4 separate regions of the Homo sapiens genome follow, and all the other regions are linked to region 3. Evidence: promoter capture Hi-C in 16 types of primary human blood cells and fetal thymus (Javierre and others, 2016). All regions are on one chromosome and are shown on one strand. Each heading gives the region's core, a stretch centred on a gene start or on the middle of the fragment in contact. The rest is flanking DNA. Distances are from core to core; before and after follow the strand shown. Region 1 has its middle 180 kb from the start of LINC02144. Region 2 has its middle 130 kb from the start of TMEM161B. Region 3 holds the start of MEF2C-AS2 (MEF2C antisense RNA 2). Region 4 has its middle 100 kb from the start of TMEM161B.

The links. Contacts are between HindIII fragments. The CHiCAGO score rates a contact against its expected background, and 5 or more counts as called.
Region 1: a fragment that was not itself captured here is called in contact with the fragment with the promoter of MEF2C-AS2 in region 3 in 1 of 17 cell types (activated CD4 T cells); the score reaches 5.5 in activated CD4 T cells.
Region 2: a fragment that was not itself captured here is called in contact with the fragment with the promoter of MEF2C-AS2 in region 3 in 11 of 17 cell types (endothelial precursors, megakaryocytes, erythroblasts and 8 more); the score reaches 14.6 in endothelial precursors.
Region 4: a contact is called between a fragment that was not itself captured here and the fragment with the promoter of MEF2C-AS2 in region 3, in 1 of 17 cell types (megakaryocytes). The highest score is 5.3, in megakaryocytes.

What each region holds. Positions count from the first base shown.
Region 1 is chr5:87,908,227-87,911,350 of GRCh38, forward strand. No RefSeq gene overlaps it. Among named protein-coding and RNA genes, the nearest start is that of LINC02144, 180 kb to the left of the region's middle. The HindIII fragment of the contact is 2,521 bases long and covers 300-2,820 here.
Region 2 is chr5:88,136,772-88,139,912 of GRCh38, forward strand. No RefSeq gene overlaps it. Among named protein-coding and RNA genes, the nearest start is that of TMEM161B, 130 kb to the right of the region's middle. The HindIII fragment of the contact is 2,226 bases long and covers 373-2,598 here.
Region 3 is chr5:88,674,792-88,678,056 of GRCh38, forward strand. It overlaps MEF2C-AS2 (MEF2C antisense RNA 2), which reads left to right and starts at 1,427. Exons shown (of 4, transcript NR_146284.1): 1 at 1,427-1,472. All of the region lies in intron 1 of MIR9-2HG (MIR9-2 host gene), which reads right to left. RefSeq lists enhancers at 399-498, 936-1,501. The HindIII fragment of the contact is 5,913 bases long and covers 1,315-3,265 here.
Region 4 is chr5:88,162,491-88,165,479 of GRCh38, forward strand. No RefSeq gene overlaps it. Among named protein-coding and RNA genes, the nearest start is that of TMEM161B, 100 kb to the right of the region's middle. The HindIII fragment of the contact is 4,402 bases long and covers 1-2,989 here.

The DNA.
Region 1 (3,124 bases), core at 310-2,809, 770 kb before region 3:
ATTAATTCTGAAAGAGATGAACATTTATTCTTCTAAAATCATCTTTTATTATCTTTGAGCACTTCAAATGACACTTCTATATTTGTACCTTACACAAAGGATAAAGACAGTAAATATAAAATATCACCTACATTTATTCCAAGTACATGCTAAACACATTCACATACAACGTAGCTTACTTAACCCTCAGTTACTCTGTGAAGATAGGATTAATTATCCAAATTTACACAAGAAATTTTAAGACTCAGTGGTTTTGTTTTATACAGCACTGTAGCAAAAACACAGGTAAAATTATTCCAAGCTTAATGTTCCTTTCATAATATCACATTTTGTACCTTACTTGAAAAAATGAAACCCTTAATTTTATAGGCTACTATTTTATTTACAATGTATGTAGCAAAAATTATATTTTATGTAATCAGTGTGTATTTTTCTTTTTTATTTATTATCTTGATGAGATATTTTGAAATGAAGTGTGTCAGAAAAGAATACGTGGAGACCCTAAAGACAATCACATAAACTATGGTTTACTTTCAAGCCACAGTGAAGTTTCAGGAAAGTCACTTGGTTTTAATTTGCTTATCGTAAATAATATCTGTCCTTCATCTTCTAAAAACTAATGACAATTAAAGACCTACATTTTTTTTTGCTAGTTGAGTACATGCATACAATGCACCGGAATGAAATTCCATATTAATACTCAACAATTAAATGTGTGTGAAATATTGTAGTCTAATGGAAAAATCCTATTGTTTTCATTCGCTTCCAGTTAAATTCACAGCTATGCTAGAAATCCATATCTAATCTAATCTTTCAGTAGTCCCATTTCTGCATCGAATTAAGTTAAATTTTTAGATTGTTCTCAAATATTGGGATAAATTGGGATTTTTTTTGGTTGCAAGTGATGGAAACATAATTTAAGAAAACTTAAGGAAAATGTGGTGGCTCATTTAACTGAGTAAGATAGAGATATCTGAATTAAGGCACAATTTGATACAGATGTCAAAAAAATTATTGCCACAAACTTCTTTCTTTGCACATCTTTCTAGAAGCCTCTATGTTGGTTTATTTATCTAGAAAGTGTCAGAAAAATGAGAATGATCTGAGATTTACCTTGCTTGTAAGTTAGCAAGTTAACCTGCCTCAGTTATATAAATGCTGACAGAAAACATGAGACTGCTGGACCAGAGGCAAAGGTATATTTCTGTGAATCCCTCTAATCCGTAAATATCATGAGGGGATACAGAAAAGCCTAGGTGCATGCCTGCCCAGGTAGTAGGTTGTGTTGCAGTAGAGGAAATCTGAGCTTAGAGAGCCTGAATCTTTTCTGATGCGCAGTAGGCATTCCTTTCCTTTGTTCTGGATCTCTTTCTCTCTTCCCAAGGCTATTTACTGAGCAAGCATATTTTTAAGTATAGTCTGGAACCAAAGGCAGTTCATACTTTATACACAAGATGGACAGAAATGTGAGAAACCCATTGAGAACTGTATACAAACAGAAGGCTTTTTCCATAAGGGGGCAAAGAAGACCACCACTTACATTCTACTGTCTGAGCAATCTCAGCAGAAAGAAAAAAAATGTGCTTTTTCTCAAAAGTCCTGCATAATATGCATATCCTTGGACCACTGTAATTCTGACTGATCAGGCCAGGAATTGTGGTCCTCTTTAAAGCAGAATGGTCAGATCAACCTCTCAACAAACACATACGTTTAGAGTTGGAAAGAGCTGGCTGCCCAAAGAAATATTTGGGTATTTTTAACAGACGAGTACTCCACATCAGTATTCCCTTCTGTACTGTTAACAGAAGGGAGTATCAATATGAAGGAAAGAAAATGCAGAAAAGGTCTATATCATCGACCCTTTTCCTCTCTAACTTTGTGCTCAATATTCTCTCTGCTTTTGTGTACTATCTTTCTCTTTCATCTCTATGTGTCCATATCCTTGACATCCTACAAACCCATGTCCATGTGCACACTCCAGTATGAAGACTACAATTTTCTCTTTACAGCTAGAAAGTCCTTCTCTGGATTCACTTAGTATATCTCTTCCTCAATTTTACTGGGACATTTTGCTTTCTATCTTGTATTACAGAAATCTCTTTAAATGTCTTAACTTTCCCCACTAGACTGGGATCTCCTACCAAGGTCATGTCTCTGCCTCTCTGTATCCCTTATGAGTCAATGCGTATTACTGGTGATTAATATATGTGTACTGAATAAAGGGAAGGATATTTAATTAAATTTTCATCTCTTATATATCTTGACTAACAATGATGGAACAATTATGAGGCCAGGAGTCCAGAGACATTGCTTTATTTTCTATTTTTACTATACACTGGTTGGTCACCTTAAGCAAATCTATAAACCTGTCTGAGGCTCAATTCCTTCATTTGTAAAAAGGTGACACTATGTGCTCTTCCTAATATGGTTATTGAGATAATCACATGAGGAAATGCACATGAAATTACTTTAGAAATGTAAACCACTCTAATAATTAATGAATTTCATTTTCAAATAACAAGTGAGCCATTTCTGTTATATGAATTCAATGTGTTTAATATTAGCAGAATAGTTATACAAAAGTAAGTAGATGTAATTTGAGAAATGCTTGGGAAAAAAATCTGTCTGTGCAAAAATATATTTCTTGTTATCTCTAATTCCTCCATCTCCTTTAAATTTATCTGAATTAATTTTAGGAATGCTTATCTCCAAAACTTCCCATAAAAAAGAAAGTTATCAATAATACATTAAGCCATTATCTGTTAATAAAACTATTGTATTATTTTAACTGGCTATGAAGCAAAGGGATATATGCAAGTAAGCTTTAAATGGAAGAGGGACATAATTAGAAAGTAAAACCTTGGCATAAGTGTGCCTGGAAGGTAACGGGAAAAGGAACATACTGACAAAAAGGAAAAACATTTAAGGAACAATAGAAATATTGCCAAATGAAGAAAATTGCCTAATTCATAGCTTTGCCCTGAACTGGTCTTATCAAACAGATCAATTTTCTATATATCTATTTTTTTTAACTCACAATTTCTCCCTTTAAATTTGGAAAGGATCACAGACATAAAACAAAATAATTGATTTGTTCAGAGAACTTTCTCCTTTAGAGTAGAAA
Region 2 (3,141 bases), core at 236-2,735, 540 kb before region 3:
GATTACTGGCGCCCACCACCACACCTGGTTAATTTTTTTGTATTTTTAGTAGAGACAGGGTTTCACCATGTTAGCCAGGATGGTCTCAATCTCCTGACCTTGTGATCTGCCCGCCTCAGCCTCCCAAAGTGCTGGGATTACAGGTGTGAGCCACCGCACCCGGACAGTGATTTTCTTTTAATGGAAGAACTACTGTTAAGTCACTGGACTGATGAGCTTCACAGGGCCAACACTTCTTAGCTTGGACATGTTTACTAAACAAGTTAAGAGTGCATGCTCTAAATTACCTTGTTTGAATAGGGGCTGTAAATTAGGTTATTGTGAGGAAATGACCACTTTCTCAAAATCTTCAAAGTGCACCAGGAAACATGAAGCTTGGGTGTGTTATAATTAATTGGGAAAATGGTGGATGCCTCAATCATTGCAATTTGGCATGACTAATGAAAGAGTTCTATCACAGCAAAGTCTAGGGTTCATAAAGTGCTTCTTGCCGGGGGAATCTTAAATCATAAATAGCAACATGTTTAGTCCTCTGCCCTTTTATAAGAGATAAAATTGTGGTACAAATAAAGTAGGCTTTTTTCCAAGGTGGCACAGAACTTAACAAAGTGAAAATGTGGCATTTACATTCCTTGATTTATAACCTTTATAACGTTTACTTAAGAATGTATCCAAAGGAAATTCCTATTGTTTATTTTACCATTTGTTTAGTTGAATTGTTAATTAAAACTTTTTTCCAGTATCATTTGCCAGAGGGTGATGCTGATTATAAGAACTAAAACTAGGGATGACATGCACTCTCACATGTAGCAACTGGATACAATTTTAAGTTCAAAACACAGCCTATTCTAGCAAGAAGACTAGGATTAGACAATAGCACCCCTTGCATCCCAATACTGCCATCAGTCTTTACAGTTGGGATTGTCCTTTCTTGACTCTGAACCACACCCAAAAGGTCATCAATCTGTGAATGTTTATTTACACTTCTCCTTACCATCTTGCACGTTATTGACTCTTACAGCTGCCTTTGAAAGAGAGCTTTCAAATAGCCATGAGGAACTAGAGGTTTTTTAAATAAATAAATAAATAAGGCTCCAAATATCAACAAACAGTTGATATTTGACTTTGGAATTCAAGGGATACATTAATAAGTGCTTATGTACCCACAGGCTTCCTTACTCTGTGCCTGAACTCAGCACCCAATCTATGTACCCTAGCTATCAGCTTTTCAGGGTCCTGATGAGAAACAAACAAGAGGAAATCAAACACTTGAGTGTTGACAGTACAGTCCAGAATCTGGAATTACTGTGACTCCTTACAAGTGCTCAGAACTCCTTAATTGGTTATGTGAATTTGTCATCCTCTATCAAATGTATGGGGATACTGCCTGCAAGTAAACCTCCACTCAGACCTCAGAAAGCAAAGGTCAATCTTTCAAGGAGAATTTAGGAAATATTTAGAAACAAAGAATAATTCCACACTAGGAAAGTCATAGGTGCTCAAACAGTAAGAAATTTAAATCCTCCACTACATATATGTAAGTTCACACATGCTGGTCATCAGCTGGCATCTTTAGTGAGTATCTTCTATTGAACTCACTACAAGTAAGTAAGCTGAAGGGCAATTTCTGAAATACTGTGAACATGTGTGTTTTTCTATATAGTTGGCTGGGTAGGTTCTTACCTAGCTCTACACAGTATTTAACACCAGATTATAGATTAGCCTCTCAGGGGAAATAATGGTACACACTTATTATATGTAATATAATAGCCATTCACAGAAGATCCCCATTATACATGACAGCAATGAACCCAGTCCCTGGAATTAAGAAACTGTACATCAGGGCTGGGTGTGGTGGCTCACACCTGTAATCCCAGCACTTTGGGAGGCTGAGGCGGGCAGATCACAAGGTCAGGAGATCGAGACCATCCTGGCTAACATGGTGAAACCCCGTCTCTACTAAAAATACAAAAAATTAGCCGGGCTTAGTGGCAGGCACCTGTAGTCCCAGCTACTCAGGAGGCTGAGGCAGGAGAATGGCGTGAACCCAGGAGGCAGAATTTGCAGTGAGCCAAGATCGCACCAGTGCACTCCAGCCTGGGCGACAGAGCGAGACTCCATCTCAAAAAAATAAAATAAAAAAATTAAAAAAAAACTGTACATCAGAAACAACTCAAATGGCCTTCAACAACTTTTAAAAGGATAAACCATCTGTGGTACGTTCATGCAATGAAATACTACTCAGCAATCAAAAAGAGCAAACTGTTGATACACCCAACAACACAGATGAAGATCAAATCCATTATGCTAGTAAAAAGAAGCCACACAGAAGAAAGCTACATACTGTATGATTCTATTTATATGACATTCTGTAAAAGGCAAAACTACAGGAATGGAAAACAGATCAGTGGTTTCCAGGGTTACAGGATATTGGGAGGGATTGACTGCAAAGGGCAGCACAAAGAAGTTTTGGGGGATGATGAAATTCTGTTTCTTGCTTGTGGTCGTGATTACATTACACACTGGTAAAACTCAAAGAATTTATATCCCTGAAAAAGTGAATTGTACTGTATTTAACCTAAATATCAAAAGTTCAAAAGCTTCACATAGTTTATATTTCTCATTCTCATGTATTCAAGAAGAAGAATTGTCTTTCAAATATTCCTACTAAACTCCTGCTTATCACTTTCAAGAACTTAGCTTCAAAGTTAGCTCTTCTGTAAAGCCTTCCCATACCTCTCTATGTTCTGGCTTCTTTCTAAGATTTTTTTAAGGAAATAAACATTACTCATATAGCCAATATCCATGTGGATAAAGGCTCCTTCTCTTCCAGGGGTCTCCCCCATGCTGGAGTTCGCACGCATTCTTCCCCAACATGCTTTTATACTTTTATTACATAGTTACGTACCAACAAATTGTTATGGGAAGGATAATTTTACGTTAATAGATATTAATATTGCATCAATATCACATTTTTTTTGAGACGGAGTCTTGCTCTGTTGCCCCGGCTAGAATGCAGCGATCTCGGCTAACTGCAACCTCCGCCTCCAGGGTTCAAGCAATTCTCCTGCCTCAGCCTCCCGAGTAACTGGGATTATAGGCGCCTGCCACCGCCCCTGGCTAACTTTTGTACTTTTAGTA
Region 3 (3,265 bases), core at 177-2,676:
ACAGCCACCGGCGCCCCTTTCTTGCCTGCTCGTAGATCTGCCCTCCGGCCCAGAAGAGGCCGAGGACCATTTCTTAGCTGCCCCAGAGGAGGGGGCGAGCAGAGGAGGGGGCGGATGTGCACAGGGAGGTGCCAGCGGTCCGGTGCGCGGGCACGCACACGCCGGCGCGCAGGGCTGCCGCGGGCGGAAGGAGGGGAATGACAAGGCCTCGGCCGCGTCTCGGAGAGGCACTACCTCCGCGCTGAGGCCGCTGAGTTTCAAGTGCAAAACACCAGGCCAAATCCGGCAAGGCGGCGGCTACAGAATGGCTCACACTTCAAGCCTCCTTCCTCAAACAATCCGATGGGAAGGACCTGGCTGTTCAGGGGAAGCCTTTGCTGGCCTCTCTTTTTACATGGGGTGAAGTCGAACCCCAATCTAGGAGCCCTGGCCTAGATGGCTCCGCAGATGAGTCCCAGACGTGGCCATGGAAAGACTGATCTCTCTCTGCTCAGAGCGCCTGCCTCGGTGCTCACTAGCGCAAGCACCTCCCAACACACATACATACATACACACACACACACAACACAGCACTCCCATCACATTAAAACGCGCGCTCATGATCCTGCCGTTAATGAAGCCGAGGCGCATAATGAGTGCACAGGTAAATAGGTACCGAAACCAGAAGACTTCACCAGTCGGCTGGGCGATTTACCTCTCCCTACAGGGAGCACTTGTAGTTATCGTGTTTTAGGAGTGATTTGCTGTTGTCTGTGGTCTCTCGCTCCTCTTCTTGTGGAGAGAAGCCAAAAAATATATATGTTCCGTGGTCAGAGTCTTCTTTCTGATAAGCTACCCGAGCATTGGTCTAAAACATCTGTTTTATCTGTTGATTTTGGTTTGTTGTTTTGGGGAGTGTTGCTTTTCTGAGGGAAGCAAAAGAACGTGTGTGTGGTGGGGCTGGAAGCTCAGGGCAAGAGTCTGCGTGTGCGGCCGGAAGGCTGGCGAGTCTGAGAGCCGCGCGGTGCAGAAAGAAGGCGGCGGCTTGTCCTCCCCCGGGGCCGGCACTGGTCCCTTGGCACCCCGGCCTGGGCTCGGCTACTGCCGCCGCCGCCCGCGCTCTCGGGCTCCGCCGGCTGCCGCTCCGTGTTTTCCCCCATCCCGGCTTCACGTTCAAGGTTTAGCTGCGAGGTCACGTCCATTGACGTCAGCTCCCTGTCTCCCTCTACGTCCGGCTACATTTACATACATCAAGGAAATTAGGGCATTAAAAAAATATGCAAATCCTGCGCGAAGAGGAGCGGGTGCATTCCTGGCGCGATCGCCTTTTATTGAAGCTTTTAATTAAAGGGGCCAGTTGGCGAGCCCCTGAAACAACCGCCAAAACCCCCCAAAAGAGAAAAATAAACGCTGTAGCCTTCGAGAACGGTTGTTTCGGCTCCTGTTCTGTGGGCGGCTGAGGACCGCCGGCTGCCCGGCTCGGAGAAGAACAGGTTAGAGGAGGCAGCTCCAGCCCATGCATAATCAGGGCTCCGCGGCGCCTCCATTCTTTCCTCCTCCTCCTCCTCCTCCTCCTCCTCCTCCTCCTCCTCCTCCTCCTCCTCCTCCTCCTCCTCCTCTTCCACCTCTCCTCCTCCTCCTCCTTCTCCTCCACCTCCTCCTCCTCTTCTTGCTCTCGCTCCTGTTGGTTCCAGCGTGTATTATTTTTAATACTGATGCATATGTAAAGGTATATTTGCATTTTTTAATTTGCGAGAATTTCAGATTTTGTCATTTTATTGGTTCCCTTTCCCTCTTTTTTTTTTTGGAGGATTTTTATTGTTGTTATTTTATTATGTCTATGTGTCTCTCTTGTCCCTTTCTGTCTTTTTTGGCGAGTGTCTGCTGCTGTCTCTTGCTAGATAATATACACAGTTACCTCCCTGCTTCTGTTTATTTAAGGTTACAAATATGCACATCTGTCATGTATGCAATGCCAGCTGTATAACCTCCTGGTTTGGTCATAAAGGAAAATACACATTTTTTTTTCTTTCTTGACATACCTTGATGGGCTGTAGTGCCCATCGCTCAAGGCTCAAAGTTTGATTGTCTAATTAACTTCATATTAGCAGAAACACAGTTCGGGGCCAGTGCTTTCGAGATAATGTATGTATAAGTGAAGTGATTCCAAAGATTTCTAAATAATTTTTGTGCTGATTGCCTGAGAGGTGCGGCATTCCCCGCCCTATTGCTTTCTAGCATTTCTTATTGAAAAAAATATATATATTTTAAAATGGGTAGACACAGCAATGGACAGCCTTCTGCAAGGAAGACATTTTCAACCATGTTGTATGTTGTACCTTATTGGCTGCATTCAAAATTTACTGAGTTTCATTTTTATCTTAATATGGCTGGAAACAAGGCACATTATCTTGACTGAAAAGCATCCTTGATTCCTGACTTTGAAATGAAAGCAAATACACAAATAAAACAATTGGCTATATTAAACCAGTTGATGTGGCTTAAAATATACAGGCCTTGAGTTAGATTTCAAGCAATGGTAATCTTGTTTATAGGATCGGATTCTCTTTCTTGGCAATATAGCTATGCAGCACGATGGCTTTTTTCCACCTTTTAATTCCCCCAAGCTATCATTTAAAAAAGACTCAATCTATAATTGCAAACCCTGAAAGAACAGCAAGTATGCACACATGCAGCTTATTCAATTAAACAAGTCCAAGTACATGCACAGGTAATTAGTTTTCTTATGAATGACTTACCTGCACAGATACTCAGGCCAAGACTCAGCCCTCCCCAATGGCCTTCATGTATAAATATTCACATGTATTTCCCCCTATTTCAAACCTAAAGCGGTATGCCATCTTTCATGCTGGACTATCCAGCATCCATTTTCAGCACCCTTAACTCTTATGGAATTTCCAGCCTTACCTCTGGCTGTAGTTTTTCCAAGCCTACACCAAAGTGCTCATATGATATGTCACCCAATAAAAAGTGGTCAGATGGCTACACGTATGACATTAAAAAGCAGAAACACATTCATCCTTCAGGTTCGCCTTTACCTTGCCATATATAGCAAGATTACGTTTCCTAAAATACATTTTCAGCACATTTTATGAATAATTGCAGGATTCCACAACTGATTGCAGAATAGCCGGTTTCTGGGGGGCACCTGGCTGAGTGAAACAATTCGGCAGGCTCAAGGTCTCTTTGAGTTTGGCTGCAGTTAAATTGCGCGTGGCTGTTTGTTCCTGCCTGGACTCTCCCACATACCTGCCTACCTTTATGT
Region 4 (2,989 bases), core at 377-2,876, 510 kb before region 3:
CATGTGTCTTTATGGGAGAACAATTTATATTCCTTTGGGTATATACCCAATAATGGGGTTGCTGGATTGAATGGTAGTTCTGTTTTAAGGTCTTTGAGAAATCACCAAATTGCTTTCCACATAGTTGAACTAATTTACATTCCCACCAGTAGTGTATAAGCATTCTCTTTTCTTTGCAACCTCACCAACATCTGTTATTTTTTTGACATTTCAATAAGATCCATTCTAACTGGAGTGAGATGGTATCTCATTGTGGTTTTTATTTGCATTTCTCCAATGATTAGTTAACATGTTGATTTTAAATAGCTACTTCACTCAAAGACATTCAATATATTTTTATTTATTAGCCCATTTTTTAAACATTATTCTAAGAAGAAGAAACGGTTCATCACTACAACTTCACACTTGGGAAAACTGAGGCAAATTACTTGCACAAGTCCACATAATTATTTAGATGTAGATCCAGGACCACATCCTTAACTTTTAAACCCTTATCAAATTTTTTAAATTACTTGCACTGAAAACTGAGCCATGTTCATAGCTCAGAACATGAAAAAGAAGAAAATATTTTCTACTTCCTTAGGCATAGAAAAAAATAGATTTAGAAAGCAAGAATAACACTGAATCAGTGCAAATATAGTGTTAGTTTATCTGATCAACATCAACTTGAATACTTTTCCCACTATAACCTCACTCAATTTCTCTTCTGTCTCAGACATTTTACATTTTGATGACTATTCTACTTCTAGAAAATTTCAGACCTTTTTTTTTGCAATTCATTCACAAACATAAATGAGCTCCTACTTCCATTCTTCTTAGCCTATTTTATCACAGATCACTTCAAGAAATTAATAAAAGTTGTGAACCTGTTGCTCCTCAAAATGTTTACCTATAGAAATATTTGCATAAAATTTCGGGAGTTTGGTAAGCACCCTCCCTTCTCAATGTATTCTGAGAATGAACCCTTGTAATTCTGTGTGCCAGCCATTGATTATCTCAATTTCATTTTCTGACAACCCTGTATGGAAAATACTGTATGGAAAGTCCTCATAGTACAGTAGAGGTAACTGGGCCATATCAAGTAGCATACATAGGATTTGAATCAATTTATCTTGCCTCTTGTAGTATTTTTAACATATACAAAAGCCTTCAAAAGTCATCCACCTAAACTGGGAGGCTTCCCTTCAGCCTCATCCTTCCAATTAGCTTCTTCTGTGGGTTAACTGTTTTAACCATATTTCCACTCATCTGATAAAAATCAAGTCCAAGAAAGCTACAGGCTCCTCAGGATGCTCATAGAGTTATTATTTTATTAATTATTCTCTTGCTATGTGGTCTCTGAAAAGCCAGCTTTTTTTTATATATACTTTAAGTTCTAGGGTACATGTGCAGAACATGCAGGTTTGTTAACATATGTATACATGTGCCATGTTGATGTGCTGCACCCATTAACTCGTTATTTACATTAGGTATATCTCCTAATGCTATCCCTCCCCACTCCCCCCACCCCACAACAGGCCCTGGTGTGTGATGTTCCCCACCCTGTGTCTAAGTGTTTTCATTGTTCAATTCCCACCTATGAGTGAGAACATGTGGTGTTTGGTTTTCTGTCCTTGCGATAGTTTGCTGAGAATGATGGTTTCCAGCTTCATCCATGTCCCTACAAAGGACATGAACTCATTATTTTTTATGACCGCTTAGTATTCCATGGTGTATATGTGCCACATTTTCTTAACCCAGGCTATCATTGATGGACATTTGGGTTGGTTCCAAGTCTTTGCTATTGTGAATAGTGCCGCAGTAAACATATGTGTACATGTATCTTTATAGCAGCATGATTTATAATCCTTTGGGTATATACCCAGTAATGGGATGGCTGAGTCAAATGGTATTTCTAGTTCTAGATCCCTGAGGAACCACCACACTGTCTTCCGCGATGGCTGAACTAGTTTACAGTCCCACCAACAGTGTAAAAGCGTTCCTATTTCTCCACATCCTCTCCAGCACCTGTTGTTTCCTGACTTTTTAATGATCGCCATTCTAACTGGTGTGAGATGGTATCTCATTATGGTTTTGATTTGCATTTCTCTGATGGCCAGTGATGATGAGCATTTTTTCATGTATCTGTTGGCTGCGTAAATGTCTTCTTTTGAGAAGTGTCTGTTCATATCCTTTGTCCACTTTTTGATGAGGTTGTTTGATTTTTTCTTGTAAATTTGTTTAAGTTCTTTGTAGATTCTGGATATTAGCCCTTTGTCGAATGAGTAAATTGGAAAGGCAGCTTTTTAGAAAACCAGTGTAGCTTCTAGAGTCACTGGAAGCTGCTTTTTAAAGTTTCCAGTGAAGAATGGTCCCTTTGTCCATCTTCTATTTATAACAATCAGGCTGATTATTAATAGGATTGTCACTGGACTTGGCTTTCAAAGTTCTCAACCTTCTCCTTCTGTCTTGTGTACCTCCTTGGTGACAATGTATCCTCATCTCTAGACCATTTCTGTGCCTTTCATCCTCTCTCAATATTAAACAAAGGAAAAACTATATGATAGTCACATGGAGTTTTGGAATAACTAGCTACATGTAACTGAAAATCAGGCAGGTGAAAACAGTACCTCAGCCAATAATTTACCTTTTTGTAATATTTATATGTCTAAATATGAAATAAAAATTTCACCCTCTTGTACTTCTATGCATTAGCAATCAGCAGGCAGATGGACAAGAGTATTGTTGTTGGTTTGACTGATGGATCATTATAATGAGCAAGAGGGAGAGTGTGTTGAATTTATCTAATTCCCATTAGATGAATTAAGCATGGGCATATTCATGTTTTGCAGAGCCTGAAGCATAAACAATTTGGGGATCCTCTTTAAGAAAAATAGGTCAGGCGCGGTGGCTCACGCCTGTAATCCCAGCACTTTTGGAGGCTGAGGCAGGTGGATCATGAGATCAGGAGATCAAGACCATCCTGGCCATCATGGTGAAACCTCGTCTC